Linked DNA regions of Homo sapiens: all the other regions are linked to region 1. The links are contacts of gene promoters, found by promoter capture Hi-C in human tissues and cell types (Jung and others, 2019). All regions are on one chromosome and are shown on one strand. Each heading gives the region's core, a stretch centred on a gene start or on the middle of the fragment in contact. The rest is flanking DNA. Distances are from core to core; before and after follow the strand shown.

Region 1 (7,547 bases), core at 633-3,132:
CTACTGTGCACCCAGCCCTGTGTTAAGGGCCTTTCTTACAGTGCCTTAGTGCATCCTGACAACTTTACAGGACACGGAATTTGTGTCTCCATTCTTCACATAAGGAAACCTGTTGGAAAGGTCGCATAACCAGTCCAAGATTGAACAGCTAGCAGGGTGCAGAGCCAGAAGTGGAAGCCAGGTCTGATTCCAAAGCCATTGCTCTTAGCTTCCTGAGGTCCAGGCTGTCCCTAGCCCCTAAGGCAGCCACTCCTTCCCAAGGTTCTGATGCAGCCACCTATCTGGAGTCACACAGGAGTGCGTCTCTTTTCTTGTGGCTGGATCTCCTAGTGATATGAGGACAGTTCCTGGAGAAGATTCTCCCCTCCTGTCTAAACACACCTAAATGGGCTTGGCCTCCTCCCGCAGCTGGCTTCTAGTTGCATATTGGCCTGGTGGCAGTTCTTCCCCTGCTCTCCCTTCCAAGCCCCCACAACTCAATGTATCAATGATTGTTTTAAACTGTGACTCTAGGATTCCACTAGCCAGAGGCCCTTTCAACCATGGGCCCTCTGAGAAGCTCCTCTGTAGGCCGACAGGAGGGTGGACTTGCTTCGCGTGGTACCCGGGGACTGGGGCAAGCGGCTGCGGGATAGGGGTCTCCACCTGAGCTCCCTGAGGGCACCTCTCCCACTACCACCGCATCTGACCCCCACTACTGGCCCCAGCTCGGGCCTGGAGCCCACGCAGAAGGGGAGGCAAGGTTGAGCGCCCACACCCGGCCAGTAACCGAGGCGCTGGCCCTTGCCGGAGCACTTGGCCGTCTTCCGCAGAACAGCATCACTGGCAGCCGCCCCGCGTGGAGGGTGGAGCCGGGGAGCCCGGTGTGGGACGGCCGGGGCCAGGGTACCCTAGGGCGGAGAGCTCAGGGCTGGCTTCCCGCTCCCAGCCGCGCGCCCCTCGGGCCGGAGGTTCCTGCCGCGCCCCGACACCTGGAGTGCATTAGGCGGCGGCGCGCGTCTAGGCGACGGCGGCTTTCCCCAGATTATTGAATAATTGCATAATTCCGAGCGCGGGTTGGGAGGCAATGCCGGGTCCCTACCCCGGGTGTCAGGTAACGTTTCGGGGGTCCTGCGCTGCGCGACTGTGTCCCGCCGCTGCTGGCCGGGCAGACGAGAGCTAGCCCCCGCCTACCGGCCATCGCCCCGGGGCTTTGCTCTGTCTTTGGCCGGAGGCACTCTGCGCAGCCCTCACCCCCACCCTTCAGCCCTCCGGGGCCGCCGCGCCCGGCTCTCCAAACTTTGAGATGCTTCCCCGGAGCCAGGCAGGAGGGCAGCCAGGGCACACTCTCTTGGCGCTGATTCCCTTCCCCAGCCGGGGCCGTGCGCCCTCGGCGCTCCCGGGACACCCGAGTGCCCCTGGCAGCCGTGCGGGAACCCCGGCATGGGCCTTGGAGGCACCTAAGGCGCCCAGGAGGGCCACCAGATCTGGGAGCTTTTCAACTCAAGCCTCTTCAACTCTTCCCAAACACACCAAAGAGTCCCGGCTTTCAATAGCCTTCGCACCTCCCTCTTTAGCGAAACTTGACTGAACCGCTAGACTGGGGCCAGTCCCTGGGGGACCCACGTCCCCAAGAGCAGCTGAGGTCTGACCCTGGGAGGAGGGTCGCGTCCCGATCCTGGCCGCTGGATCCAAGCCCCGAGGGCCCAGGGAGGGACTCCGAGAGGCAAGGGGAGGCAGAGGGTGGGCACCTACCTGGCCACAGGCTGAGCGCCCAGGCCACCACCAGGCCCCTGGGCAGGTCCATGGCCCGCGGCACGGCGGCTGGGTCCGGTGTGCAGCGGCGGCGGGGGGCGGCAAGCCAGAGCGGCAGCCTCCTCGGCGCGGCGCCTGCAGCCTGCACTGCGCGGGGCGCCGGGCTCCCTGACAGCTGCGGCTCATTCAGAGGAAGTGGGAGGGCTCGAGCGGAGGGGAGGGGCGCCGGACACCACTCCGGCTCGGGCTCTGGGCCAGTCTCGGCCGCTCTGCCACCTGGGCAGGCGGCGCGCTGCCTCGACGCGCCTGTGCAGCGCTCCTTCTCCGCCAACCCCACGTCAGCCTCTGGAGAAAACTCCAGAGAACCGCTCCTGGGAACCCCCTCACCAGTGTAGCACCGCACCGCCTCAGTCAGATTCTGTTCAGGAAAAGTGGTTTTTATTCCCATTTCCCAGTGAAAAGAGATTCACAAAACTCAGAGGGTACCCAAGCTGGCTCAGGAACACCTGCTGGAACGCAGGTCTCCCTTGGCCAAGTGAGTGGATGTCCCTCAAAGGTCCATTCTAAGACATCCCCGTGTCTCCCTGCACCCTGCGGCTTGAATTGTAGAGGCTAGTGTTTCTTCTGACCCTGGAATACATGCAGATTCGCCTCCACTGCCACTCCCTGAGCCTCCACACCTGAGGCATTCCAAAGCACCCAGGGACACCGTGCACCCCCTCTTAACCTAACGTGAAGCTCTTCTTTGTAACCCTGCCACCTTCTTTCCCTCTTCTAATCACTGGTAGTTAAATTCAATGCACATTTATCTCAAGAGCTTTAAATCCAGGCCCCGGACCTCCACCGCGCTTGTGGAGGCTTTTCCAGCAATGGAGGAAGCCGAGGCAGAGGGTAGGAAGGCCAAGATGCAGGGAAAGCCACAGCAGAGCGCCCTTCCCCCACTTTCTCAGGAAAGGCTTCCTTCACCCCCTCTTCCCGTCCCCACCAGGTTGAGTCCCAGACACATGCTGATATTCCCCAGCCCGCTCTCCCTCATTTCTCTTCATTGTGCTTAGTAGAGAAGCAAGGCATCAATTGGTGTGATCATTTAACTTTTCTCTCCTGTGCAGACTGAAAACACCATCAGGGTAGAAATCTCTGGTTCACAATGGAGTACTCAGCCCCTAACACCCAGGAACAAAGTAGGTGGGCGGGTGGATGGATGGGTGAGTACAGGTGGTGTGTGGGTGCACAAAGGATAGAGTTTTCTATCTGGGAGGTATTGGAAGGGCTTCCCAGAGGAGGTGATGTTCAGTCAGGGCCCCTGAAGATGAGCTGGAGTTTGAGAAGACCCAGGTTCACATAAGTGAAGTGGGCTTGTGCTCGTCTCCCAACCTCACTATCTTTCGGTTGGCTATCTGGGTTTTACTTCATCTTCACCTCACCCATTCAGCCACAGACTCGGGGAAGGTGATTCCGTCCCTGGTGTGTGTGTGTGTGTGTGTGTGTGTGTAAGGAGGCATGCGGTTCAGGCTGAAATGAATCAGTATGTTGCCCTTCCCAGCCCATCGTTTCAGAAAGGGCAATATGACAAAAGAAAAAGTTTTTTTGGGAAGCAAGCTTTCTTGCCTTTCTAAAAGAGCCCCTAGAACAAACAAACAAATGAACTAACTCTCTCTCCTCACCTCTCCCACTCCTGCCTCCTCTCCCAGCCTGGGACAAGGAACTTTGTAGGCTCAGAAGTTGACAGGGTCAGGGTAGGGAAGGAGGATCTGGCCTTGAGATGAGGTGGACACTGGATGACAGAATGGAGGATCTTGTTGAACTCCTGAATGAAGCCACCCCTTAACCCCACTCCCCTTGGGACTTATCAGTTATACGACAGTGAGTCCTCTTCACTGAGTTGAGTTTAAGCCAGCTGAGTTGAATGTAGAACACCCCTACAGCTAGGGAATGGGCTGCAGCCCACATTCCTGCCTTGCACAAATCTCCAGGTGCATCAGAACGACCTGGAGCACGTGCAAAGAATGCAAATTCCCCAAGGATCAGGGCATGCTGGTGGGTGCCCCAGGCACCTCTGACGTGTGGGTGGTCTGCAGCTTGTGCTCAGAGTCTGCATGCTGCTTGCTGAAGGGGCGCACTGTAGTGGCTGTCCTAGCTGCGCTGCTGCTGGTCTCGCTGGTAACAATTCTACCATTCATTCACCTTCACCGTCCTCACAGGTGCCTGGGGAATGGGGGTCCTGAGGATCACTCTGTGTGCTTTTGTGTAATGTGGGAGGGTGAGGGGAGAGGTGTGCCCTCATTTGTTCTTTCAACAGATCCTACAGAGTGCCTACTGTGCCCCTGTGCTCTGTAGGACACACGGAAGGAGAACCCCACACTAGGGCAGCTGGTGATGGAGCTGAGGAGACAAGACATAACCATGTATTTATTTAATCATAATCTGTTATTTATTAATCTATTTAAAACCATTTATTATTTCATCACTATTAAACATTATTTAAATCACACCCAAGGCAGCAGCATATGAGTGACAAGTGCACAATCCAGACTCTAAGGCTGGAGAACTGCAGAGAATTTGGTGAAGGGCTTTATGAAAGCTGTGATTTCTGTTGAATAATAATAATAACTCTTTACATGTACACAGTGTTTTAACTGATTTATTTATTCACATGCCATAAACTGTGCCATAGAATCCAGTAGTTGTTAGTATATTCACAAGATTGTAAAATCATCCTCACTAATTTCACAATATTTTTATCACCCCAAAAAGAAGCCCTGTAACCATGAGCAGTCACTCCCCATTCCTTCCCACCAGTCCCTGGCAACCACAAATCTATTTCTATGGATTTGCCTATTCTGGACGTTGCATATAAATGAAATCATATAATACGTGACCTTTTGAGTCTGGCTTCTTTCCCTTAGCATGATGTTTCCAAGGTTCATCCATGTTGCAACATGTATCAGTATTTCATTCCTTTTTATTGCCAAGTAACATTCCATTGTATGGATCTACCCCCTTTTGTTTATCCATTCATCAGGTGAGGCTTATTTAGGTGTTTCCACTTTAGGTTATTGTGAATAATGTGGCTATGAACACTTGTGCTGCCGGTCTTGCTGGTAGCAGTTCTACCATCCATTAACATAGCATAATGTTAGCATAATGTTCATACAAGTTTTTGTATGAATGTATGTTTTCAGTTCTCTTGGGTATACACCTAGGAGTGGAATTGCTGATCATATAGTAATTTTATGTTTAATCATTTGAGGAACTGCCAAACTATTTTCCACAGTTGCTACATCATTTTAGATTCCTACCAACAATGTACAAGTGCTATGTATAGTGTTTTACTATTTTTGAAATCCCTTTCATATCCATGATCTAATTTAATACTCATCTTGTACAAAATTGTATTTATTTTTTATAGTAAAGAGATTGTATAGTTGAAGATTCTTTCACTTGCAAGTGACAGAAATTCAACACAATCAAACTGAAGCAGAAAATAGAATGTAAAAGGTCATGTAACTAGGAAGTGCAAAGGTGTTCTGTCTGCAGGTGTGGCTGGATCAAGGGTCTCAAATCAATGTTACTGCTCTCTCTCTGTCTTCTCTTAGTTTTGCTTCACTCCATTTTCCTTTCCTGCAGCAGAAGAGTTTCTCTGACTGTCTAGCAGTCCCAAGCTTATACTTCATAGATTCTGAAGGGAGAGAGACAGCCTTCCTTTAGTAGATCCAGCAGAAAAGTCTAGGGCTTTGGTTCATGCCCACCCCTGAACCAGTCCTAGTGTCTGGAGGATATGGTGCTATAATTAGCTCAGTTTGGGACACACACCCAGCCCCATGACTTGGGAAGAGAAAGGCGCCATGACTGACAGCCCCATCAAAACCACATATTACAGGAGAGGACTTTCCTAAAGGAACCAGAAAAAGTGGGATGGCAAAGTATACTGGACAGACAAATCCATGGTTACTAAAAAATCTAAGCTCAAAGTAGCAATAGATTCACGCAAGATTCCACATCATCTATGAGGCAGAACTGAGATTGGAACCCAGCATTCTGAAAGCAGATTGAGTATTAATCCCAACATCCCAACTGGGTGGAGGGAGCGGGTATTTCAGGCCAAGACTGCATGAGCATGGTCAGCTCAGAGACAGGTCCTATTGGCAACTTCTGTGGCTCCCAAGATTTCAGTCTGAGCATGCTCCTCTGGGAGGACCTTGGCTTCTCTATGGAGGGAGAACGAGCAGTGGTCTGGAGTACTGATGACAGAGGCCTTGGCTCAGTTAGGACCAATGCTTTTTTTTTTTTTTTTTTTTTGAGATGGAGTCTTGCTCTGTCACCCAGGCTGGAGTGCAGTGGTGCAATCTCAGCTCACTGCAACCTCTTCCTCCTGGGTTCAAGTGATTCTCCTGCCTCAGCTCCCCAAGTAGCTGGGATTACAGGCGCCCGCCACCATGCCTGGCTGATTTGTGTGTGTGTGTGTGTGTGTGTCTGTATCTTTTTTTTTTTTTTAAGTAGAGATAGGGTTTCACCATGTTGGCCAGGCTGGTCTCCAACTTCTGACCTCAAGTGATCCACCTGCCTTGGCCTCCCAAAATGCTGGGATTATAGGCAGGAGCCACCATGCCTGGCCACAATGCACTCTTCTTCCAGAAAAGTTATTGGGGTGCCCTGATCTGCACTCATTTCAGAGAGGTGCCTCTCTCTTTCTACTCTTTCTCTGAGTTTTTCACCACTTTGACCTTGGGTGATCAATTGTCCTGGTTTGCCTGGGACTAAGAGGTTTTCTAGAATATAGGACTTCAGTGTCAACACTGGGGGACAATCTCTGACAAACTGGGATGAACTGGTCTCCCTGTGTCTATCTTGGGCCTTCTGTCTCACTTTCTCCAACTTTCTTTTCCAATACTCCCCACTCTCTCCCACTCTCTGGTTATTTCTCTCCACCCTTCTCTGTCCTGCTCCCAGGTACCTCCAATGCAGCCAGTCTCCATAATCAGCCTGGGGGCTCCACCTTGAGGCACTCCCTGGCTTCTAGGCTCCTTTCTGCCCTTGCGGTCCCCCTCATGGATCCCACCTCCTCTCTGTACTATCAGTTGGTTTGTGCTTAGGAAATGCAAACTTTTTTTCAAAGATAAGCGTAAGCAAGCTTACAGTTACTGAGAAGGCACATCTTCTGCCAAAAAGTGATATAATAAATCCCAAAGGGAAAAGGAAAAAAAAAAGTAAAAAAAAAAAGCCACCAGATTGCCTTGTTATCTGCTGTTTGAATGATGCATGCCACCGTTTTGGACCAATGACTTCTGTGATAGGAAGTGGCTGCATTTGTCATGCACAAGTGTGCTTAGAGGGTGTCCCTTGGTTTTTATTTGTCATGCCAGGTCTCATCCCCACCAACAAAGTGAAGCAGGTTAACTTTGAAGAAGTGTGTTTACACCAGTAGTGTATGTTTGTCCCAGCCACTTTCCGCTTCAAAGTCTAATCCGAAATGTTAGAGCCGGGTGGATGCTGCCATTCTTCCTAATCCTGTGCCTGCGGGTCAGTGACTGGAATTTCTACAAGGATCAAGCCCTGTACACAACCTATACTGAATCTAGAAAGTTATTTTGTGATCTCCATTTCTCAAGCCACAAGTATATACAGCATTTGCAGTAAAGATATCAAAGGGAAGGAGCATGGCCACAGCACAGACAGACACGCAGGATGGATAAGGAAACATCTCTTTGAAGAAAAAGTATGTCAAAGGGTATGAGAGAATAGAAATTGCTTTAAAAGTCTAGAGGTGTCAGTGGATGTTCCAGCTGAGAGGTCATTTCTGATGGGGTTTAGCT
Region 2 (6,879 bases), core at 1,779-4,278, 230 kb after region 1:
ATCTGTAAAATGAGATGTTGGGCCCGTTGTCCTCCAAGGTCTCGCCAGCTCTGACATTCTGAAACTCTGTGCTTCTCCTCCCCTGGAGACAAAAACCCCAGAAGCTTGGGTCGGTAGGAGCCCTGGACCAGGGAGAGGGAACAGCTGGGGCCAGGCTGGCCAGCTCCCAATTGTTCAATGGAGGAGGAGGGCGAGATGCATGGTGCTCTCCAAAGCGACAGCTGGGTGAGCCTGGCTGGGGGCCTCGTCCCCGCCTGCCATCTGTGCCTCCTTCCTGCCTTCGGCCAGTGAGGGGCCAGTGGGGGTTGTGGTTGGGGCCTAGGCCAGATAACAACCTGGGTAGAAGCGGGAGGGGCTGGCCAAGAAAATGCAGGGAAGAGTCTGGTTGCTCACTCTTGGGTGCTTAACTCTTTGCACCCACTCCCCACTTTTTCCCACCCTGATCTATAGAATTCTGGAAAGGAAGTGATACACAGCCCTAGGTCCACCCGAGCTGCTTAATGGCTCTGTGACCTTGGGCAAGTTACTTAACCTCCCTGAGCTTCATTCTTCTTTGTCCAGTAGACATCATTCCTAAGACCTACTCTTTGGGATTGGAACAAGGTGTAAATGAAACAGAGTAGATAAAGTACCCCAGCTCAGTGCTGACTCAGTGCCATGGGCCTGTCCAAAGAGAGCTTATACCTGGGACTGTGAACTGCTCCCGCTGATCAGAATGCAACATGGAGGCCTGATGAGCCCCTGTGCAGTGTTTGTGAAGTGCTGTCGCTGTCCCCAGGCACAGGCGGCTTTGCAGCCAGCTTTCTCTCCTACACGCCTTTGCCCCGGCTGTTTCTCCCTCTGGATTGCCCTCGCCCACCAATATCCACATGCATACAACTCTACCCACTTAGAATAACTTATCTATTTATAAATAAGTACTTATATTTAGGCAAAACCTTCATGCAGTTGGACAGTTTAAACTTCAGAAGCAAAGGACCTGCAGTGGACGGTCTGCCTTTCAATCCTAGCTTCCAGTTACTCAGTTCCTCCAGTAGGAGGGAATTGCTGTTAGCAGTTACTGGAGTGTCTTTCCCAAAATTATTTATATGTACATACTTAAACCTGGAAGAGTGTGAGGGATAAGGGCGCTGACCCCTGCACCATTGAAAATCCACATATAACTTTCAACTCCCCCAAAACTTAACTCTGCTGACCAGAAGCCTTACCAATAACATAAACAGTCAATTAACACATATCTTACATGTTATATGTGTATATACTAAATTCTCACAATAAGTCAGCTAGAGAAAATGTTATTAAGGAAACTGACTGGACACAGTGGCTCATGCCTGTAATCCCAGCACATTGGGAGGCCCAGGCAGGAAGATCACTTGAGGCCAAGAGTTCGAGACCAGCCCAGGCAACACAGTAAGAGCCCCTCTCTAAAAAAATTTTTTTGATTAAATTTTTAAAAAGAAAACCATAAGGAAGAGAAAATATATTTACTATTCATTAAGTGGAAGTGAATCATTATAAAAGTCTATCCTCGGCCAGACATGGTGGCTCATTCCTGTAATCCCAGCACTTTGGGAGGCCGAGGCGGACAGATCACCTGAGGTCAAGTGTTCAAGACCAGCCTGGCCAACATGGCGAAACCCCGTCTCTACTAAAAATACAAAAATTAGCCAGGTGTGGTGGTGCACGCCTGTAGTCCCAGCTACTCAGAAGGCTGAGGCAGGAGAATCACTCGAACCCGGGAGGTGGAGGTTGCAGTGAGCCAAGGCCTGGGTGACAGAGCGAGACTGTGTTTCAAAAAACAAAAAAAGTCTATCCTCATCTTCATGCTGAGTAGGCTGAAGGGGAGGAGGAAGAAGAGGGGTTGGCATTGCTGTCAGAGGTGGAAGTGGTGGTGGAGGTGGAAGGGAAGACAAGAGAGGCAGGCAGGCACCCTCAGTGTAACTTTACAGAAATATATCGTAATTTCTGTCTGGCTTTTTCATTTCTCTAAAAATGTTTCTATATGGTACCAATTCTCCTTTGACCATGTGCCTGTATCATGGGAGGGTTCATGTCATGAAAGAAGTCAAGAGCAGTCTTGAATAATTGGACCCTTCTGCCAGATTGTCTAATGTCAATTTGTTTGCTGGTGCTGCTTCTTCTATGTCTTCTTCCTCATTGTCTGGCATTGCTTCAGAAGCACTCATCTCCATCAAGTTGTCTTCTGTTCATTCCTCTAGTGTGATGTCTGTTAGCTCTTAAGCTTCTTCAAGATTCATATCTTTTTTTTGGCAGGCTCTTGCTCTGTTGCCGTGGCTGGAGTGCAGTGGCATGATCATGGCTCACTGTAGCCTCAACGTCCTGGGCTCAAGTGATGCTCTCACCTCAGCCTCCCAAGTAGCTGGGACTTCAGGTGTGCACCACCACACCTGGCTAATTTTTTTATTTTTTGTAGAGATGGGGTTTCACCATGTTGTCCAGGCTGGTCTTGAACTCCTAGGCTCAAGCAATCCACCCATCTTGGCTTCCCAAAGTGTTGGGATTACAGGTATGAGCCACTGCACCCAGCCAAGATTCATATTTTGAACCCTTCACTCCTACACACCTTTTTTACATATCCACAATCTCTTTCATTATTTCCTTGAATGGCTCTGTGGTAAATCCGGTGAGGTCATGCACAACATCTGGACACCGTTTTCTCCAGTGGGAATTTATTGCCTCAGGCTTGATGGCTTTCACAGCTTTTTCTGTAACAATGATGGTATCTTCAACTATGTAATCCTTCCAGATTTTCATGTTGTTCTCTCTATAGAGGTTCTCTTTCTTAGTGTTGACAATCTTTTCCATACAGTACCATGTGTAATGTGTAATGAGTCTTTTTTTTTTTTCTGTTTTTTGAGACAGACTTTTGCTGTCGCCCAGGCTGGAGTGCACTGGAGTGATGTCAGCTCACTGCAACCTCCATCTCCTGGGTTCAAGCGATTCTCCTGCCTCAACCTCCCCAGTGGCTGGGATTACAGGTGCCCGCCACCATGCCCAGCTAATTTTTGTATTTTTAGTAGAGACGGGGTTTCACCATGTTGGCCAGGCTGGTCTCGAACTCCTGTCCTCAAGTGATCCACCCACCTCGGCCTCCCAAAGTGCTGGGATTATAGGCGTGAGCCACCGCATCTGGTCAGTACCATGTGTAATAAGTCTTAGGAGTTCTTATGATTTCCTGATCTAGAGGCTGAATTAGAAACATTGTGTTTAGGAGCAAGTTGAACTCATGGGGTTCTGGGTGGCCAGAGATATTGTCCAATATCAAAAGAACTTTAAAAGGCAGTTTTTCAGGGACAAAACATTCAACCAATCCAGAAAAAGTGTTCTGGTTATCCAGGCCTTCTTGTACAAAGACTACCAGCTGGTGTTAATCTTTTCCCTTCAAGACTTGGGAGTTAGCAGCTTTACAGATAAGGGTAGTCCTGATCATAAACCTGACTACATTTGCACAAAACAGTAGAGTTAGCCTACCCCTTTCTGCCTTAAATCCTGATGCTTGTTTCTTTTCCTCACTAACAAGTGTTCTTAATGGCATATTTTTCCAGAACAGGGCACTTTCGTCTGCATTAAAAACCTGTTCAGGGCCTGGCGTGGTAGCTCACGCCTGTAATCCTAGCACTTTGGGAGGCCGAGGCAAGTGGATCTCTTGAAGTCAGGAGTTCAAGACCAGCCTAGCCAGCATGGCAAAACCCCATCTCTACTAAAAATACAAAAATTAGCCAGGTGTGATGGCGTGCACCTGTAATCCCAGGTACTCAGGAGGCTGAAGCAGGAGAATCACTTGAACCCAAGTGGTGGAGGTTTCAGTGAGCTGAGATCATGCCATTGCACTCCAGCCTGGGTGACAGAGTAAGACCCTGTCTCAATAAATAAATAAATAAATAAATTAATTAATTAATAAAAATCTGTTTAGGCAGATGTCCTTTCTCTTCAGTGATTTTCTTAATGGCTTCTAGGAACTCATCTGCTGCTTCCTGGTTGGCAGAAGCTGCTTTTCCTGTTATCACGACATTTTATGAGCCAATTTTCTTTCAAAATGATCAAACCACCCTTTGCTGATGTTAAATTATCTGACTTTAGATCGTTCAACTTCCTTTTGCTTTGTTTTCATATAATGATTTCACCTTTTCCGGAATCATATTAGAATCTATAGGTTATACCTTTCTTATAGTAATCCTGCACCCACATAAAAGCTGTATTTTCACAATGAGATAAGGTATTTTGAAAAGTGCAGGGTTTTCATGCCTGCTGGCATAACTCAGGAATAACTTCATGAATTTCCTTTTATTTTTTTACAATAGTCCTTAAGCTGGATTCATTTATCTTGAAATGAGGTCTGCAGTTGTCATTCAAGGTTTACACTATTGCACTAAACACGATGAAAAATACATCAAGAACCTCAAGAGATCACTTTGTATTGCCATATGCAATTTATTGGAGAGATGAATTGAATCATATACATGGAGATGATTAGCCTCACATGCATTTTAAGCAGATACTTGCAACACTTGAGCTTCCTGCAATAGCAACAAGAGCAGGCTACAAAATTATTACAGTAGTACAGTAGATGCCACAATTTGGTGCAGTTATGACTTAATACTGTGTCATTAACATTTGTTTACATTTTTCTCAACTGCAAATGACACCATGTATGATCTGAAAGTGTGTGTATGTTTTGATAAATTTCAGCTTCTTATAATAGATTTGTATATATTTTATGCCAGTAAATGATAAGACAGACTAGTATCTACAGATATTCTATGCATTTATGACATACCTTTTTCTTAATTTTTTTTTTCCTAAACAGGCTAACACAGGACTTTTTCTTAAATTTTTTAAAATATTTCTAGGCTACCTGGTTTATCGTGAGCTTTTTCAAATTGTCGCTAAACTCAAAGAAATTTCCAATTTATTGAAAAAAAATCTGTGGATAAATGGACCCAAACAATTCAAACCCGTGTTGTTCAGAGGTCAATCTTTTTTACACGAAGATCACCAACTACCTACATTGTTCTCTCTACATCTTGCTTTTTTACATGTAATTATATATCTTGGAGATCTTTTCACATCAAATATAGAAAGAGTTTCCTTGCTCATTTTTATAGCTACACAGTATTCCATTGTTTGGATGGTCATCATTTGTCCAGCCACATTTTGCCTATTGATAAGTATTTCCATTGTTTCTTAAGTTTCACTATCATAGACAGTGCTGCAGAGCATAACTGTGGACACGCTTTATTTCATGTGCATGCAGGTACGTCTGTAGAATAAATCCCTAGAATTTAAATGGATAGTTGAAGAGGTACGTGCTTTCTTCCAGGAAACACACACACATACACGCGCACACACACGCAGAAGAATTTCCTCCTGACATTGTAGTAGGAAGTTTTCTTAACAGGACACAGAAAGCAATAGCTATAAAACAATCAATAAATTGAACTTAATCAAAATTAAAAACTTTTGCTCATCGAAAGATTCATTAACAAAGTGAAAAGGCAAGCCACAGACAGAGGAGCAATATTTGCATTGCATATATCTGACAAGGGATTAGTATTCATAATATGTGACTGGATTTAAAAATGAGAAAAAAAAGTGGACAAGACTTGAATAAGCATTGCATGAAAATGGATATCCAAATAGCCAATAGGCCTGTGAAAAGGTACTACTTTCCCAGAGTAGTTTCAATTAGCATTCTTATTAAGACAGAAGTTGAAATCTCTTTATGTGTTAAGACCTACTTGCATTTATTTTTGTGTGAATTGTTTATATGCTTTGTTCATCATTACTCACCAGGAAGATGAAAATTAAAACCATGAGTTACTACTGTACATCCACCAGAAAGGCCAAAATTTAGAAAGCTGATAATATCAAGTGTTGATGAGGATGAGGAGCAGCTGGAACTCTCATACTACACTGCTGGGAGTGTACAGTGTTACAGCCACTTTGGAAAACTGGATGACAGAAGTATTCTACATTTTGATCATGGTGGTGGGTTTATGAATGTACACGTGCAAAAATTCAATGAGCCTTACAGCTAAGATCTCTGTAATTTTTTTTTTGGATACAAGTATATCTTGGTTAAAAGTTTCAGAGTTGGGGGAAAGGTGTGTGCTTCTGAAATGTTGACAAAATTGCTTTCCGTTGAGATTGCAATAATTTATATTTGAACCAGCAAAGTGTAAGTGTGCCTGTTCATTTAACCTCTTAAAAACTGAGAGTTATTGGCGGGGCATGGTGGCTCACGCTTGTAATCCCAGCACTTTGGGAGGCCAAGACAGGCGGATCACGAGGTCAGGAGATCGAGCCCATCCTGGCTAACACAGTGAAACTCCATCTCCACTAAAAATACAAAAAATTAGCCGGCCATGGTGGCAGGCACCTGTAGTTCCAGCTACTTGGGAGGCTGAGGCAGGAGAATGGCGTGAACCCGGGAGGCAGATCTTGCAGTGAGCCAAGATTGTGCCACTGTACTCCAGCCTGAGGGACAGAGCGAGACTCTGTCTCAAAAAAAAACCAAAAACCAAAAAACAAAAAAACCTGAGTGTTATCATATGTTTTAATTTTTTGCCAAGCTGATGAGTGGGAAACTTTGTCAGAGTAGTTTCAATTAACATTTTTATTAAAAATGAGGTTGAAAATATCGTCGTATGCTTACAATCTATTTGCATTTCCTTTTTGTGTGAATTGTCTGTCCATATTCTTCACCTATTTTTTATAGGGTCTTTGATTAATTTCTTATTGATGGAAGAAGTCCTTTATATGTTAGGGAAATGAGCCTTTTGGAATATGAGTTGCAAGTATACGTTTCAAATGGTACTTTTTGCAGTGCAGATTTATTTGTTTACATTTCAAGTATTT
Region 3 (7,235 bases), core at 3,505-6,004, 160 kb before region 1:
ACACATTGAACATTTCCCACAGATACACCACATGCTGAGACATGATCAAACCTCAACAAATATCAAAGGAATGAAATCCTACAGATTGTGTTCTTCGACTGTGGAATTAAGCCAAACATCTGTCATATGTAGCTAATAATACAATCCCCCACCGCTTTGAGATTTGATAGGACTTCTAAATAACTTATGAATAAAATGAAAAAAATCACATGAGATTTAGAAAATATTTTGAACTGAATAATAATGAAAACACAACAAACCAAAACTTGCAGGATCATTACAACTAAAAGTTCTCAAATGTAAATCTATTGCTTCAAAATTGTTCGGACCATAACTTCATTTGTTCTTGTCTAAATCCTTTTTTGATTTCCTACATCACCAAACCTAGCAAAATTATAAGGCAGGATAAGAGAAAAACCACTTATGAAAACAAAGATAAGGTGGAAGAACAACAATATATTTTAAACTAAGAAAAAAAAGCAAAGAAAACTGTGGCTTGACATATTTGAAAGGTTTGCATCATCTTGGTATATTATATTTGCTGTGTAAATAAGTATGTTAGAGAAGCTGATACAATTTCTTAATTTGATTCTTGTAATAAACACATATAATTTTATTTTATAAACTGTAGGATGTCAGCCAGACAGTGATTAGAGGAAAATGTATGGCCTTAAATGTATATATCAGAAATGAAAAAAAAAAAAAAAAAGACTAAGAATTGGCTGGGCGAGGTGGCTCATGCCTGTAATCCCAGCACTTTGGGAGGCTGAGGCAGGTGGATCACTTGAGGTTAGAAATTCAAGACCAGCCTGGCCAACATGGTAAAACCCTGTCTCTACCAAAAATACAAAAATTAGCTGGGCATGGTGGTGCACACCTGTAATCCCAGCTACTTGGGAGGCTGAGGCAGGAGAATCGCTTGAACCCGGGAGGAGGAGGTTGCAGTGAGCCAAGGTTGTGCCACTGTACTCCAGCCTGGGTGACAGAGCAAGACTCCATCTCAAAAAAAAAAAAAAAAAAAAAAAAAGACTAAGAATTGGCTGGGCGAGGTGGCTCAAGCCTGTAATCCCAGCACTGTGGGAGGCTGAGGCAGGTGGATCACTTGAGGTGAGAAATTCAAGACCAGCCTGGCCAACATGGTAAAACCCTGTCTCTACCAAAAATACAAAAATTAGCTGGGCATGGTGGTGCACACCTGTAATCCCAGCTACTCGGGAGGCTGAGGCAGGAGAATCGCTTGAACCCGGGAGGAGGAGGTTGCAGTGAGCCAAGGTTGTGCCACTGCACTCCAGCCTGGGTGACAGAGCAAGACTCCATCTCAAAAAAAAAAAAAAACAAACAAACAAAAACACTAAGAATTGAAAATCAGGAATCTAAAAGAAGAGCAACCAAATTAGGACCAAATAAAGAAAAAGCAAAGAAATAATAAAGAGCAAAAATCTGTGAAATAGAAAAAAATTTGCAATATGGAAAATAAATCCAAACATTCATTCTTTGAAAAGGTTAAAAAAACTGATAGGCCAGTCACAGTGGCTCATGCCTGTACTCCTAGCACTTTGGGAGGCTGAGGTGGGAGGATCGCTTGAGCCAAAGCTAAGGCTGCAGTGAACTGTGATCATTTCACTGTATTCAAGCTTGGGTGACAGAGTGAGACCTTGTATCCAAAAAAAAAAAAAAAAATTGATAAATAGTAGTAAGACTAAGAAAAACAAAGAGAAAATATGAATTATCAGTATCAGGAATGAAAAAAGCAGGCTATAAAAACAGATGCTACAGATATTAAAATGATAAAAAGATATTATAAAAAATGTGCGCTAATAAATTTGAAAATTTGAAGGAAGTGAATCAATTCTTTGAGAAGCCCAATTTACCAAAATGAACATAAGTACAAAATGTACATATACCTACATCTACTTTAAAAACTTTAATCCATAATTAGAAACCTTCCCTCAAAGAAAATACTAGAGAAAAAAGGGAAAATATCTCAACTTTCAGGCCAGCATAACTTTAATATAAAAATATATCAAAGTTATTAAAAAAGGAGAAGTTACAGACTAATGTCTCTAATAAATAATAGAAGGCGGCCAGGCATGATGGCTCACACCTATTATCCCAGCACTTTGGGAGGCTGAGGCAGGTGGATCACCTGAGGTCAGGAGTTCTAGACCAGTCTGGCCAACATACTGAAAACCTGTCTCTACTTATTAAAAATATAAAAATTAGCTGGGCATAGGGGCACATGTCTGTAATCCCAGCTACTCGGGAGGCTGAGGCAGGAGAATCACTTGAACCTGGGAGGCAGAGGTTGCAGTGAGCCAAGATGTCGCCACTGCACTCCAGCCTGGGTGACAGAGTGAGACTCCGTCTCAAAAAAAAAAAAAAAGAAAGTTCTATCCAACTCCATTAGTCAGGAAACCTCTTCAGAGCTCTCCTTGTCTGGAAGGCCCCTGACACTAACTCCAGGAGGCCAGGGCTTGGATCTCAGTTGTACGAACTGGAGCTGGCTACTTAATCTTTTTGTGCCCAGTTTTCTTCGTCTGTAACATGAGACCTTGTTACCTAACTCACTGGCTCACAAGCTCAAAACAGAGTGAGAACATTCGAACACATTGCCGGGGGAGTGTAAACTGGATGTATTTTCTGGAAAGTAATTTGGCTAGATATATTCAGAAATATTCAAATCCTGTGAGCTAGTAATTCCATTACTAGAAATTTATTATTGGCACATAATCAGATATACAGACAAAAATACAAGTAAAGAGGTGTTCGTGGCACTGTTATTTTAATAGTAATATTTTCGTAAACATCTTGAAAGTCCAACAATCAGGGCATGGCCACCGAAATTATAACACATCTATTCTGATAAATGCAGCCATTATGAATTGCTGTAGCAGAATATTTGGTAACATTGAAAAATGCCAATGACTTTATGTTAAATGAAAAGAAAAAAAGATATGGAACTCTTTGTGTGGTATGGCTCCAATTTTGTTTCATGAACTATATATGTCTGTGGACTCAGAAAACAGACTAGTGGGAAATTTACTGAAAATCTTATTGCTGGTGGTATAATTCTGTATATATTTAAAATTGACATTTGAAAAGTTGTCCCAGCATTCCTCATAAGCATGTGTTGCTTTGTTAATAAGAGAATCAAATATTTAAAAAGTAACCCAAATTAAAATTATTTGTGGGAAACCTCTTTGAAAATCATTGTGCTACACGTGAGATGTAAGTGCGTTTCTGGGGCTTTAGAAGCACAGACGGATTCCTGTTTAAATCAATACATTTGACTGCAAGGAAGATAAATGGGTGAGTGGGTGGCCATGCTGGGCACGGCTCCTAAGTCAGGCGCTCTGCCTGCCTGCTCCGCCCCTGCAGCCCAGCAGCGAGAGTCCTGCCAGCCCTAACCCCGTTTGTTTTTCTTCTCCCCCTGGATCCACCACCCACCTCTCCTTCCTCCGGTAGGTATGAACATGAACGAGTCTGTCTGGTCTTGTCTGCTAAGTGAATCATGCCTCAGAAATGGGAAATGGCCTCAAGGCCAGGGCCTGTCTCCATGGAAGAGCTGGGACTAGCCTCAAATGTGACATCAGCGTGAGTGCTGAGGGTTTCGCTGCAGCTTCCAGGCTAGATGGCAGGTGTGGGTGTTGCCATGTTTCTGGGCTTCTGGGCCAGGTCCTGATGGAATGCTAAAGTGATACGACCAGACACAGGTGAGAAGAAGGCTGCTTCTCCTGTGGTATGATTTGAGGGCATCCTTAGGTCTCTCTGGTGCTGACTCACCCTCCTCCCATCCTGAAATCACCATTATAAAAACTCCTTTGCCAGGGAAGACAACTGAAAGGAGTGGACAAGGAGGCTCCTGCTGAAATGCATGGGATCACACAGGGCAGCAATATCTCCTAATATTAGCACTGAGGCTCTGGAATCAGTCAAGCTTAGGTTTGGATCCCAACTCCACTACTGCTTGGGGATGTCCCTTGGTGCCGCTGACATCTGTAAATGATGACAAAAAGCACTTACATATACCAAGCAGATGCCAGGCACAATTCTAAGTGCCCTTCTATTAACTCACAACAACCTTATTAGGAAGTTACTCATAATCACATCCATATTACAGAGGAGGAAATTGAGGCATGGGGTGGTGAATTAACTTGCTCAAGGTCTCACAGGATCAGCACTAGGATGAGTCCACACCCAGTGTGGCTCCTATGCTTTTAATGACCATGTTTGGGAATCTTATTAGTATCAGATGGGATAATAATAGAAACCATGACTTATTAGGGGCTTACTCAGTGCCAGGCACTGGACTAAATGCTATATAGGAATTTCCTCATTTGTTCATCCCAGTGCGTGGATGAGGCAAGGACTATTGTTAGGTGCTAACATCACCCTGGCAGGACAGCCAACTGTATACAAGGCCCTATGTTAAGGGCTGGGCCTTCAGGAGATTGCTATGGCATAAAGAGTTAAAATGTGTCCATAATAACTGTGATTCATGGTAGAATCATAGGTTGATGGAGCTGGAAGAAAGCTTAAAGGTCATCTGGTTCAGATGCATTTTTACTGATGACAAGAACCAGAGTGTGTGTGGGAGGGTGGTGGGAAGGTTTAATCCCACAGGAGTTTTGGGAGAAGATTTAGTGAGATGATAACAGCAGCCAGCACTTACTGAGTTTGGGTGCTGTGTATGCTTGTATGCTTATCTCATTCAACCCTCCAACCAGATAAGGGTGACATTATTATTATCCCAGTTTCACAGATAGGGAAACCGAGATGTTGAGAAGTTGAGCAAGTACCTTGCCCAGCGGCACACAGCTAGCAAGTGGTGAAGTTAGGATGCTGCAGGCTGGATTCCAGAGCTCAGGTGCTGAATTACCATGCTGAATGCCATCCCAGTGATAGAAGGAGGTTAAAAGGCCTGGGAAGAAGCTGGACTAGGTGGATGGGAAAGGCCTTTGGAGACTATGAAATCTTGTACAGACACGAGTAATTTTTGGAAAGAGGCAAAGGTCCCAAGAGAGGTATAAAGTGGTATAGACCTCAGGGGCAAAATCAAGGAAGATGTCCAGGATGAGATGGCATTTGCTCTGGATGTGGATCTGTGCTCCTGGGGTAGGAGTGAGGGCTGTCCAGACTATGTGTGGGATGGTGGTGGGGTTTCCTCCAGCCCTTCCCCATTGGCATGGGATGGCTCAGTAAGTTAATTGGCCCCTTAGCCCAAGTGAAGTGACCAGGACCACAGAAAGCTTTGGGCACCTAAAGCTGGGGTCCTGACTGCAAAGAACATGATGGGTGGGGAGAACTGAGAGGGCACAGAAGGTTGGTAGCAGGTGGGGTGGAGGTGGCCAGACAGCCTGAGTTCAAATCCTGATGTTCTCCCACACTCCAGTTATGAGGCCACAGACAAGCTACTCCACAGCTCTCTGCCTTAGTTTCTTCATCTGAAGAATGGGAATGATAATAATGGCATGTACTTCAGAAGCTTGTGTAAATATAACATGCTCATCTGTGTGAAATGTTCACTGTGATGCCTGGCACACATATTTCTGTCATTATAAGCCCAGGATACCGATTGGTACCACTATCCAGAGAAGAATGGGGTTAGAACAAAGCAGACACACGTCTATTTCAACCTACTTTCCTGGTAAACCTAAATCTGGCAGAGATGAATGGCTTCGCAAAATAACACAGACTAGCCACCCCCTCTCCTCCAGCCTTGGTTTTGTTTTTGCCAATCATTAGATTTGCTTTTCAGGGAAAGGCAAGGAGAGTGGGAGGCAGAGGAGGCAGAGGCCAGTGGGCTGCCAGTTTTGTGAAACCGGGCTGATAGACTGTCACTGGTTTCTGAGTTATCACTCTTATTTCTGACATCATCCTTGTGCAGCTCTGTTGGAATTTCTGAACTCTTGTGAATTAGCCTCCCCAGCCCCTTGTATACCATGGGTTTACTCTCCATTCTTAGAGGCGGGCACATTCTTGCAGAGAAAATGCAGATGGGGACAAAGTCCTTTCTTGAGCAGGTTAATGGCAAAATAGAAGGATTTTGCCAGGTGGGCAAAATAGAAGAGTTTTGTAACGTGGGCAAAATAGAAGGATTTTGTCAGGTGGGCAGGAGGGGAATAAGAGGAAAGAGAAACTAGTATGTACTGAGGCACCCCTTCATAGGACCAGGCTTGGTGAAGAAGCTGGCATGTTCCCATCACACCAGCCCTGCAAGGAAAAGATTTGACTCCATTGTACAGATGTAGAAACTGGCCCAGAGCCACAGCTTGTCCATAGATATGGAAATCCCACCCAGATCTATTCAACACTAAGGGTCACCCTCTTCCTCTATAGTACGTGCAAGGGGTATAAGATTAAAACAAGTGTCTTTACTGGTGCTTGAAAAATAACATTTTTGCATGCACTTTATCTGAGGAACTTCATTGACTTACAGCTGCAGGCTGGATTGACCTGACTTGGAAAAAGAATGCTCCATGGAAGGCATGGCAAATTCTGCTCATAGGCCACTATAATGCCTAGGAAGCAAAGTGCGGGGAAAGGTCAGTCCTGCCTTATTTCCAGGTGGAAGGCTGCAGTTTGTTGTCATCAGCAAATCAATCTCCATCAGGATATAGCTACTTGTAGTTATGTTTTACTATTGCACATTTGCTCAGTGGCTTTCTGTCCAGGGAGGAGGAAATAGGTCAGAAGCACAAGGAACTATTTCTGGGCCCTGGCCTTTGGGAAAGCAGCCTTGTCCTGTTTACATATCCTCTCTCCAGATTTGCACAACCTGACCACAGAAACGTCACCCTCTAAGCCCAGGTAAACAAGCAACTAAATAGTCTCCAGTCAGCCAATAGCTATTAAGAAACCAAGGGAGCCCAGAAGCCTATACGAAGCAACTTTGATAAACACAGAAGAAAACAGCAGCCCAAACCTCCTGACTTTGGGCTGCTGGAGCAAAGAGGTATTCCCATCTTGGGATGGAGGCCACACAATGCAAGTTCTGAGCCCCTCTCTAGCTTGACCCTTGGAGCAGTCACCCCTTGTAGTACCCATCCAGTTATACCACCAAACTGAGGTAGAGAGGGCACGAGGAAGAAGGGAGTCTCTTATTCAGCAATGAGTCTGGATGAATCAGGTCTCCCTTAGAAAACAAAACTGGAAGAAGGGGCCTGTGTCTGGACTTTTTTACATCACCTTCTTCAGAAAGTTGGTTCGGAATAGAATGTAGAATGATTCAGGAA
Region 4 (7,745 bases), core at 1,928-4,427, 250 kb after region 1:
GTAGAACTTCAGGTATCAGTCAGCTAGAGAGTCAGAGATTCTTTTATAAGGCAAAAAGACTTAGGCAAGAAGAAAGAGGAACTCTTCCCCCTTCCTTTTGTACTGGTCAGACCACAGGCTGGAACTACAGTATTGTTCTCAGCTCCGTGAGCCACACTGAAATTGGGAAATAGAGCAGAAGGTAATCTGAAGAAGGCAGCCATGATGGCGAAAATACTTCTAGTCCAGCATGAATTGGAATGTTTGTACCCCGCTTCAGCATGCTCTGGAATTCCCCTTGCGGCAGCTGCCTCCCATTTTGCTGTCAGTCATTCATGAGGATTTCACAGTAACTTTGAGGACAGGAAACAAGCTGTGTCAATTCCCTTTCCTCGGTCAGTTCAGCCTCTGCTTGGGCCTTTGGAGCTGTCTCTTCCTCTAGCTCACCTTCCCAGGGAAAGTAAAGCCTCTGAGGGCAGGAATAGCATCTTCTAGGCAGAGGAGGGGTATCCTGTGTCTGGAAAGAAATGGGGACTTGAGGAGGTAGGAGGTGAAGTTGTAAATTCTAGTTTGAGCTTTGCCACTTAGTTGCTGCGTGATCTTGAGCAAGACCATGAACCCTTCTGAGCCTCTGTTGTCTCATCTCTGAAGTTAGGGAAATGATAACTCCTCCACAGAGGTAGTGAGACTCAAATAAGATGTTTATAGATCTATTTTTGTAAAACCAAGGTCATGGAGATCATAACAAGTTAGTACATATTTAAAGTGCTTAGAAAACATTAACACATTGTAGGTTCTCTGTAAATGTTAGCTGCAATTCCACCTCCTGGAAGAGAGAATTTATTCACTTAACAAATTTTTACTGAGCACCTTCTCTGTACCCGGCACTGTGGGAAGCACTGGGGACCCAGCAGTGAACAAAACAGACAAAAACCCCAGCCTTCATGGGGCCTACACGCTAGCGGAGGAGACAGATAATAAAGTGGATTATAGGGTATAATATAGTATAATAATAGAACAGAAATGGAATAGAATATAGAATAGAATAGAATAATGCTAGGAGGAGAAATTGATTAGGGAAGGGGACAGGGGTGTGGGCAGGTGGAGGGGTGGCTGAATTTAAATACAGTGGTCAGGGAATCTGATAGGCTCAGCTTGAGTTAGACGCTCATCCTGGCCCAATCAGCTGTGTGTTTGTGTGTGCAAGGGCACAGTGTGGGCAGATAAGGATATCTGATTGGCTCAGCTTGAATTAGATGCCCATTATGATCCAATCAGTTTAGCGTGTGTGTGCTGGCAGTGGCCCACACTTGTGGTGCTAACATGACTGCTAGCGTCCGCATCTGTGGGTGAGGGACATAGGAGTCATGATGAGCTGCACAAACCCTCCAGAGGATTCTGAATTGAAGCAGGACTTCTGCCTCCTGGCCCACCTTAGCCTTTAATTTCCGGGGGCCAATCTAGCTTCAGGTCACCTTCCTCAGCTGTCAGGACTGAGGTGCCAGAGGGTAAGGGGTCTGCAAGGATAACCACCGCTGCCTAAACCCGTCAAATGCCAGACACCTCCATACACTGTCCCTGTTCCCCTGTGACATGGGGCTGCTATTCTCAGAAAGCTGCAGAGGCAGGACTTGAACTAGAGTCCATGAGACTCTCAAGCTGGAGTGCAGGTCTCAGCCGTGTTTCCCAAGTCCTGCTGTCACCTCTGTGCTAGCATGCGCACACCGCAGCCACCTGAGGAGAGTGTTTAAAATGCTTGTTCCCAGAGGCCTTGACCTGACTCAGGAGGTCTAGAGGTGGCCCAAGATCTGTGTTTTTTGTTTCTTCTGGATTATTTTTTTTTTTAAGACAGAGTCATGCTCTGTCACCCAGGGTGGAGTACAGTGGCACCATCACGACTCACTGCAGTCTCTACTTCCTGGATCAATGGACCCTCCCACATCAGCCTCCCCAAGTAGCTGGGACCAGAGGTGTGCACCACCATGCCTGGCTAATTTTTTTTCTTTTTTTTGTAGAGACAGGTTTCACTGTGCTGCCCAGGCTGGTCTTGAACTCCTGTGTTCAAGTGATCCTCCCATTTCAGCCTCCCAAAATGCTGGGATTACAGGCATGAGCCACGGTGCCCAGTCCAAGACCTGTTTTTGCAGCACTTTCGGGACTGTGCTCCCCGCCAGGCCTGGAGCCCCGGAGGCACACCCTCCCTCTCCTCCAAGCCATCTGTCAGTGCTCCCTCTTCCTCTCCAAAGCTTGCTCCTCTGCCCTTCCTGCAAAGCTCCCAATTGAACCCCAAGCCCCATCACTATATTTGCAGGGTGCACTGCTGGTCATTCCCACTGGGCCTGAGCAGAGACTGCAAGTAAGAAAATTCCAGAACCTCAAAGGTCACCCCGCACAAAGCCCCATTGTACAGATGATACAGATGAGGCCCAGACAGGGATAGGGCTAGCTGAAGGCCACACAGCAGAGGGTGGAGCTGAGACCCTCTCCCTGTCATGCAATGGCTAAGGACAAGGGCCCCTCTCTGCCACAGAGAAAGCATTTCCTTGGGCAGCTGGGAGGCAGCTTTTCTGGGAAAGGCCAGATGGTGGCGGGGGGATGCTGAGGCTGTGCTCCAGGGGTTTTCAGGGATTTGCTTGGAGAGGCAAAGGTTACTTGGGAGCGGACCTTCAAAACCTCCATGGGCAGGAAGAAAATAGCTGTCTTTGTCATAGGCCTTGGTGACTTCGTGTTGGGAAATTGTCCACCCTGTGCCAGCCCCTGTCCATTCTGCAGATAAAACAACCCTACCAGGTTGGAGGGTTCCTCACCCACTGCCCAGCCCCATTCTGTGTGTCTCCTGCCTCCCCTCTCCTGATATGTCTGTTCCTGCCTTCACCCTCTCCTTCACCATAGCTGGGTGGCCAAGTCCCCTCTACTGTGTCAAGAACAGGTCCTGATCCCCTGGTTCAGCCAGCCACAGGCTCTCTGCAGCCATGGAAAAACATGAACGTTGGCTGGATTGAGGGTTTCCTGTTATTTCATGAAAATCTCCTGCCTCTCGGAGGCCTGGTGGGGCCCAGCCCCCTGGCCCAGGAGGCTGCCTTGCCCCTCCATAATTAACAGGAGCTCTCCTTTCCCCTGCAAGGTCTGTTGCTTCCTGACAAAGGCCTAACATGCACTTGACTTTCCCCCCAGATGACTTGTACAGCACCCGTGCCACTGGCTGCTGGCTGTTCCTACAACACTGGCGGGGTTAGGACCTTTCCCACTGAGTCTGGGAGGACAGCAGACCCAGGTCCTGTTGTCAGAGAAGGAGTCAGGCAGAACAGCCTAGCACTCCATAGTAAGAGCAGGGGGAGGAGGAGGAGGAATTCCCCAATTTCTGTGTCAGTGTGAGCCCTTTCTCCCCTCCCTCACACTGAGCCCCCAGAAGGGTGCCCCAGGCCTGTCGGGCAATAACAGAGAAAAGACAGCAGGCGGTGGTTCACACCTGTAATCCCAACACTTTGGGAGGCCGACTTGGGCAGATCACCTGAGGTCAGGAGTTCAAGACCAGCCTGGCCAACATGGTGAAACCCCATCTCTACTAAAAATACAAAAATTAGCCAGGTGAGGTGGTGGGTGCCTGTTATCCCAGCTACTCAGTGGACTGAGGCAGGAGAATCATTTGAACCCAGGAGACAGAGGTTGCAGTGAGCTGAGATTGTGCCACTGTACTCCAGCCTGGGCAAAAGAGCGAGACTCCACTTCAAAAAAGAAAAAAGAAAACAAAAGAAGGCAGCTGAGCGTGTCCAGGGATCAGCAGGTGGCATAGCCAGCACCAGGCTCAGAAGAGCTGCCCACACCATGTCCCCTGGGAGCCCCAAACTCAGGCACCACACACCCAAACTCCAGCCTTCATTGCCGGTCCTCCAGTGCTCAGATAGGGAAGAACTAGAGTAGAAAATGTAGCCCCAGGTTACTGGACAGATAGTGGATCTGGCTAGAGGCCAGGGGACCGCTGTACTCAGGGTGTGTTCCCCTCCCTGCCCCTCCAGCAGCCCAACTTGGCTTGACAGTAGGACCCAGTCCCTGACCTGGCCCTCCGAGCTGGTCAGGCAGAGTGAGGGCCTTCCCAGAAATATCACCTGCTTCTCACTCGTGGATGAGTTCAGTAGATATTTATTGAGACTCTACTATGGGCCTGGCACCGTGCTGGGTGTTGGGATACAGTAGTGACTAAAACAGACAGAATGTGGTGGAAGTGACATCCAAGGGAATCATCCCATCTTATTCATCTCTAGGTGGCCAGCTCCAGGCCCAGGGAGGGTTCTTGTCTGTGTTTGGTGAGCTGGGTGGAGATTCAACATATAACCCCAGACTGGCAGAGCTGGAAGGGCCCTGATGGTTCAGGTCCACTGTGCAGACACTTTCTGAGCACATGCACCGGGGCAGCTGGCCATGCTAGGCCTGTACAAAGATGGGTTAGACACATACCCCACCCATGGAAAGCTCACCCTTGGTGAGGGTGACAGCCATGACAGCCATTAAGCACAGTACAAAGGAGGGTCTGGTCCGAGGGGCTGTGCAGAGCACAGAGGCAGAGGGAGGAAGCTAACCTGCATTTTGCAGATGATAATAATAACTACCATTTATCGAGTGCTTCTGTGGTGCCAGGCCCCGTGCCCAGTGAGTTTGTATTTATTGGCTCATGTGGAAACTGAAGCCCTGGGAGGAAGGAACTTGCTCAGTCAGTCATTAGCGTGAGCTGAGCCAAAGTAGACCCTGACTTCTAGGGGTTCGGAGTGCAATATGTTCCTTCTCCCACTACCCCAGCCCCTGAGGATCAACCAACCTCCACAGATGCAGCAGAGAGAAAGCTTGGGATGGGGAGGGACTGGTCATCTCAGCATGGGGCTGTTCACTTACAATGTAAAGGACATTTTCAAGGCCATAGATTCCCAGGGTCATTACCTCGGAGGTGGTGCATCTCCTTCTCTGGCCCCTTACATATCCCTGATGGAGCAAGGCTGAAGTTCTGAGCCAGAGGTCCCCTGCCCTGCCCACAGATTCCATGACTTCCATGGGGACAGTGATGGCCCAGGGCTGAGTCTCTATGGTGTCTGGGCAGGGAAGATGGTGGGCACTGGGCCCCCGCAGAGTGTGCACGCTCTTGGTGGATGGCGGTTCTCTCGGTGGCTATCCCTAAGAGGCAAGGCAGAGTGGCCCAGCCTGGGAGCATGTGGATGGTGCCATGTGACTCACTCCCACTTCAATGACAACAGTATCTTTGCAGCTGGCAGCATGTGGCTGGGGGAGTCATTTGATCCTGAATATAGACTGGCATTGTGTTTGAGACCAGAGGGTGTAAGAAGCATGTCTGTACCACTGAGGTTTCATTCATGTCTCACACTCTGCTGGAAACCCTCCATGATTATCTCATTTAAGATGAAAGTGTGGATAATCTCTTGGGAGGGCAACAAACACCCGTGAAATAAAGCAAACAACGCAAGACAATGCTAAATGGAGAAGCAGGACAGTGTCATGGTTAGGCCCAGAGCACAACAGAAGGCTCTGCACCATGCAAATGGTACCCCCTTGAGTTGTGCAGTGTACAGTCCATGCAACTGTACAGGGGATCCTGATTAGGTCCACCGTCTATGGCATCATTAATTCAACACAATTTGGTGAGAGCTTACCATTTGTGTCCAGCACGATTCCAGACACTGGGGTTATAGCAGAGGACAAGACAGAGCACCACCCTGCATGGAGCTTACATTCTAATTTGAAGGTCAGAAAGACTAAGGGTTGCATCCTGGCTTTGCCGCTGTGTTAGTTAATCTCACTAAGCTTCAGTTTCCTCATCTGCAAAATGGACACAATGACCTGTACTTCGTAAGGTTATTGTGCTAAAAAATTGAAATAACACTTGGCTTCAGGTCTGACCCATGGGAAGCCCTCAGTAAATGACAGCCAGCATGATCACAAATGCTGTGGGAAGAAGGGCTTAGAAAAGCTTAGGGAAAAGGGGCCGGGCGCGGTGGCTCACGCCTGTAATACCAGCACTTTGGGAGGCTGAGGTAGGCAGATCGCCTGAGGTCAAGAGTTCTAGACCAGCCTGGCCAACATGGTGAAACCCTGTCTCTACAAAAATACAAAAATTAGCCGGGCATGATGGCAGGTGCCTGTAATCCCAGCTACTCGCGAACCTGAGGCAGGAGAATCGCTTGAACCCAGAAGGAGGAGGTTGCAGTGAGCTGAGATCGTGCCATTGCACTCTAGCCTGGGCGAGAGAGCAAGATCTCCCTCCATCTCAAAAAAAAATTTTTTTTTGGAAAGAAAAGCTGAGGGAAAAGGAAGACCACAAGATGTGAAGTGCACTAAATCGTCTCAGTGGGAGCAGGAGTTGGGGCGTCTCTTGAGGGGTGCAGAAGCCCAGAGGAGCAGGCCTTTCTAAAGACCGTGTCACAAGGAATGCAGGGAGGGGGCCAGTGAGGAGCCCCCTGATTTGGGGGCCATATTTTCCCAAACCAAGGGTTAGGACACCCATGATCTGGCAGAGAAGTTCTGTGTTTCTGTCAGAGAAGAAGTCTGGGAAAAGGTGGTCATCCAAATATTGGGATTGGGGGAGATAATCACCATTTTCATAGGACCTGAGACATCACATTTAAAATTGGGTCTGTCACACTTGAGAAGTGTGACCCCTGTAGGGTTGAGCAAACCAAAGAATAAGGTTAGAGGGCAGTTGGGGGTGGGAACAGGGTGTGCGTGCCCCTCGAGGGCCAGGCAGGTAAGTCAGATCTGATAAGACAGAGAAAGGGGAGCTGACTAAGTCAGGATTCCTGCTGCACACTGGCTGAGTGGCCCAAATCTCTGTCTCTAGGTCTCAGTTTCTGTCTCTGAAAAGCGGAGACATTGTTGAGGAGCAGAGATAACACAGATGTAGTTATCTGTTGCTAGCAACAGAAATCACCCCCAACCCCAGTCCTCTTATGCAGAAAGGGTTTAGGGGCTTCATAGATTTAAAGGGCTAGAGCTGGGACAGTGGAGAGCCAGACTTGGAACCAGATCAGCACCAAGACAGCTCCGGAGGGCCCAGTCCCAGCCCACCCTGGGTAGGAGTCTGATTGGCCAAACCCAGTCCCATGCCCCGTCCCTGGATAGCAGAGGACCCTGGGTAGGAGGAACCCCTGCTTCAGCTTTCATGGTAGGGCACTGCATCCCACCAGGACAGCCCACAGAGGGAGAGTCCTCCAAATCAGGAAGGGGGCTTGGATGCCCAACTGCCAAAAAATCCTGCAGATAGTTATGTATGCCATGGAAGATTCTGGAAGAGTTGCACAAGGAAAGTAATAATTATAGAAAGCCAATCTTGCTCTGGAGTTCGAGAAGAGACCAGCACCGTGGAGACCAATTAGAAGACTGGAGTGCCTCAGGAAGGCTATGGGCAGGGTGCACCTGGAGAGGAAGGAGCAGATGTAAAGGCGTTTGTGGGGATTAACCCATCAGAGGCCTCTGGGAATCCTCTCTGACTACAGAGAGGTACAGGGAGTCTCAGAGGCTTAGCAAGGGGCTCAGGATGTTTACAGCTGTCAGGGCTCTAAGAGATCACATGGCCGCAGATTGACATTCTCTGATCGACTGGTAGGGACTCCCTAGATGCTGTGCTGAGGACTGCTGGGCTCAGGCAGGACTCAGTGAGCGATTGGTAATGCCTGTTATAGATAGAGAAACCCCAGGAGGGGCAAGGATACCATGTTTATTATCCCTGCCCCCCAAAAATGCCTCACTTTTCGGAGGGAGAGACT

The links. The method cuts DNA at HindIII sites, captures the fragments that hold promoters and counts their contacts. A contact is called where the count stands out against the background at its distance.
Region 2: a contact is called between a fragment that was not itself captured here and the fragment with the promoter of ITGA11 in region 1, in 1 of the 25 tissues and cell types used here (mesenchymal stem cells).
Region 3: a fragment that was not itself captured here is called in contact with the fragment with the promoter of ITGA11 in region 1 in 1 of the 25 tissues and cell types used here (H1 embryonic stem cells).
Region 4: a contact is called between a fragment that was not itself captured here and the fragment with the promoter of ITGA11 in region 1, in 1 of the 25 tissues and cell types used here (mesenchymal stem cells).

The regions. Positions count from the first base shown.
Region 1 is chr15:68,430,281-68,437,827 of GRCh38, forward strand. ITGA11 (integrin subunit alpha 11) reads right to left here and starts at 1,883. Exons shown (of 30, transcript NM_001004439.2): 1 at 1,735-1,883. The coding sequence starts at 1,786. RefSeq lists an enhancer at 284-1,043 and a silencer at 3,590-3,884. The HindIII fragment of the contact is 3,029 bases long and covers 1,336-4,364 here.
Region 2 is chr15:68,658,122-68,665,000 of GRCh38, forward strand. The region is part of intron 2 of CORO2B (coronin 2B); the gene reads left to right. It overlaps LOC124903514 (a long non-coding RNA gene), which reads left to right. Exons shown (of 2, transcript XR_007064691.1): 2 at 5,815-6,879. Among named protein-coding and RNA genes, the nearest start is that of CORO2B, 83 kb to the left of the region's middle. The HindIII fragment of the contact is 3,710 bases long and covers 1,174-4,883 here.
Region 3 is chr15:68,268,597-68,275,831 of GRCh38, forward strand. No RefSeq gene overlaps it. Among named protein-coding and RNA genes, the nearest start is that of FEM1B, 5.5 kb to the right of the region's middle. RefSeq lists an enhancer at 3,538-4,737. The HindIII fragment of the contact is 3,939 bases long and covers 2,786-6,724 here.
Region 4 is chr15:68,674,966-68,682,710 of GRCh38, forward strand. The region is part of intron 2 of CORO2B (coronin 2B); the gene reads left to right. Among named protein-coding and RNA genes, the nearest start is that of CORO2B, 100 kb to the left of the region's middle. The HindIII fragment of the contact is 4,249 bases long and covers 1,054-5,302 here.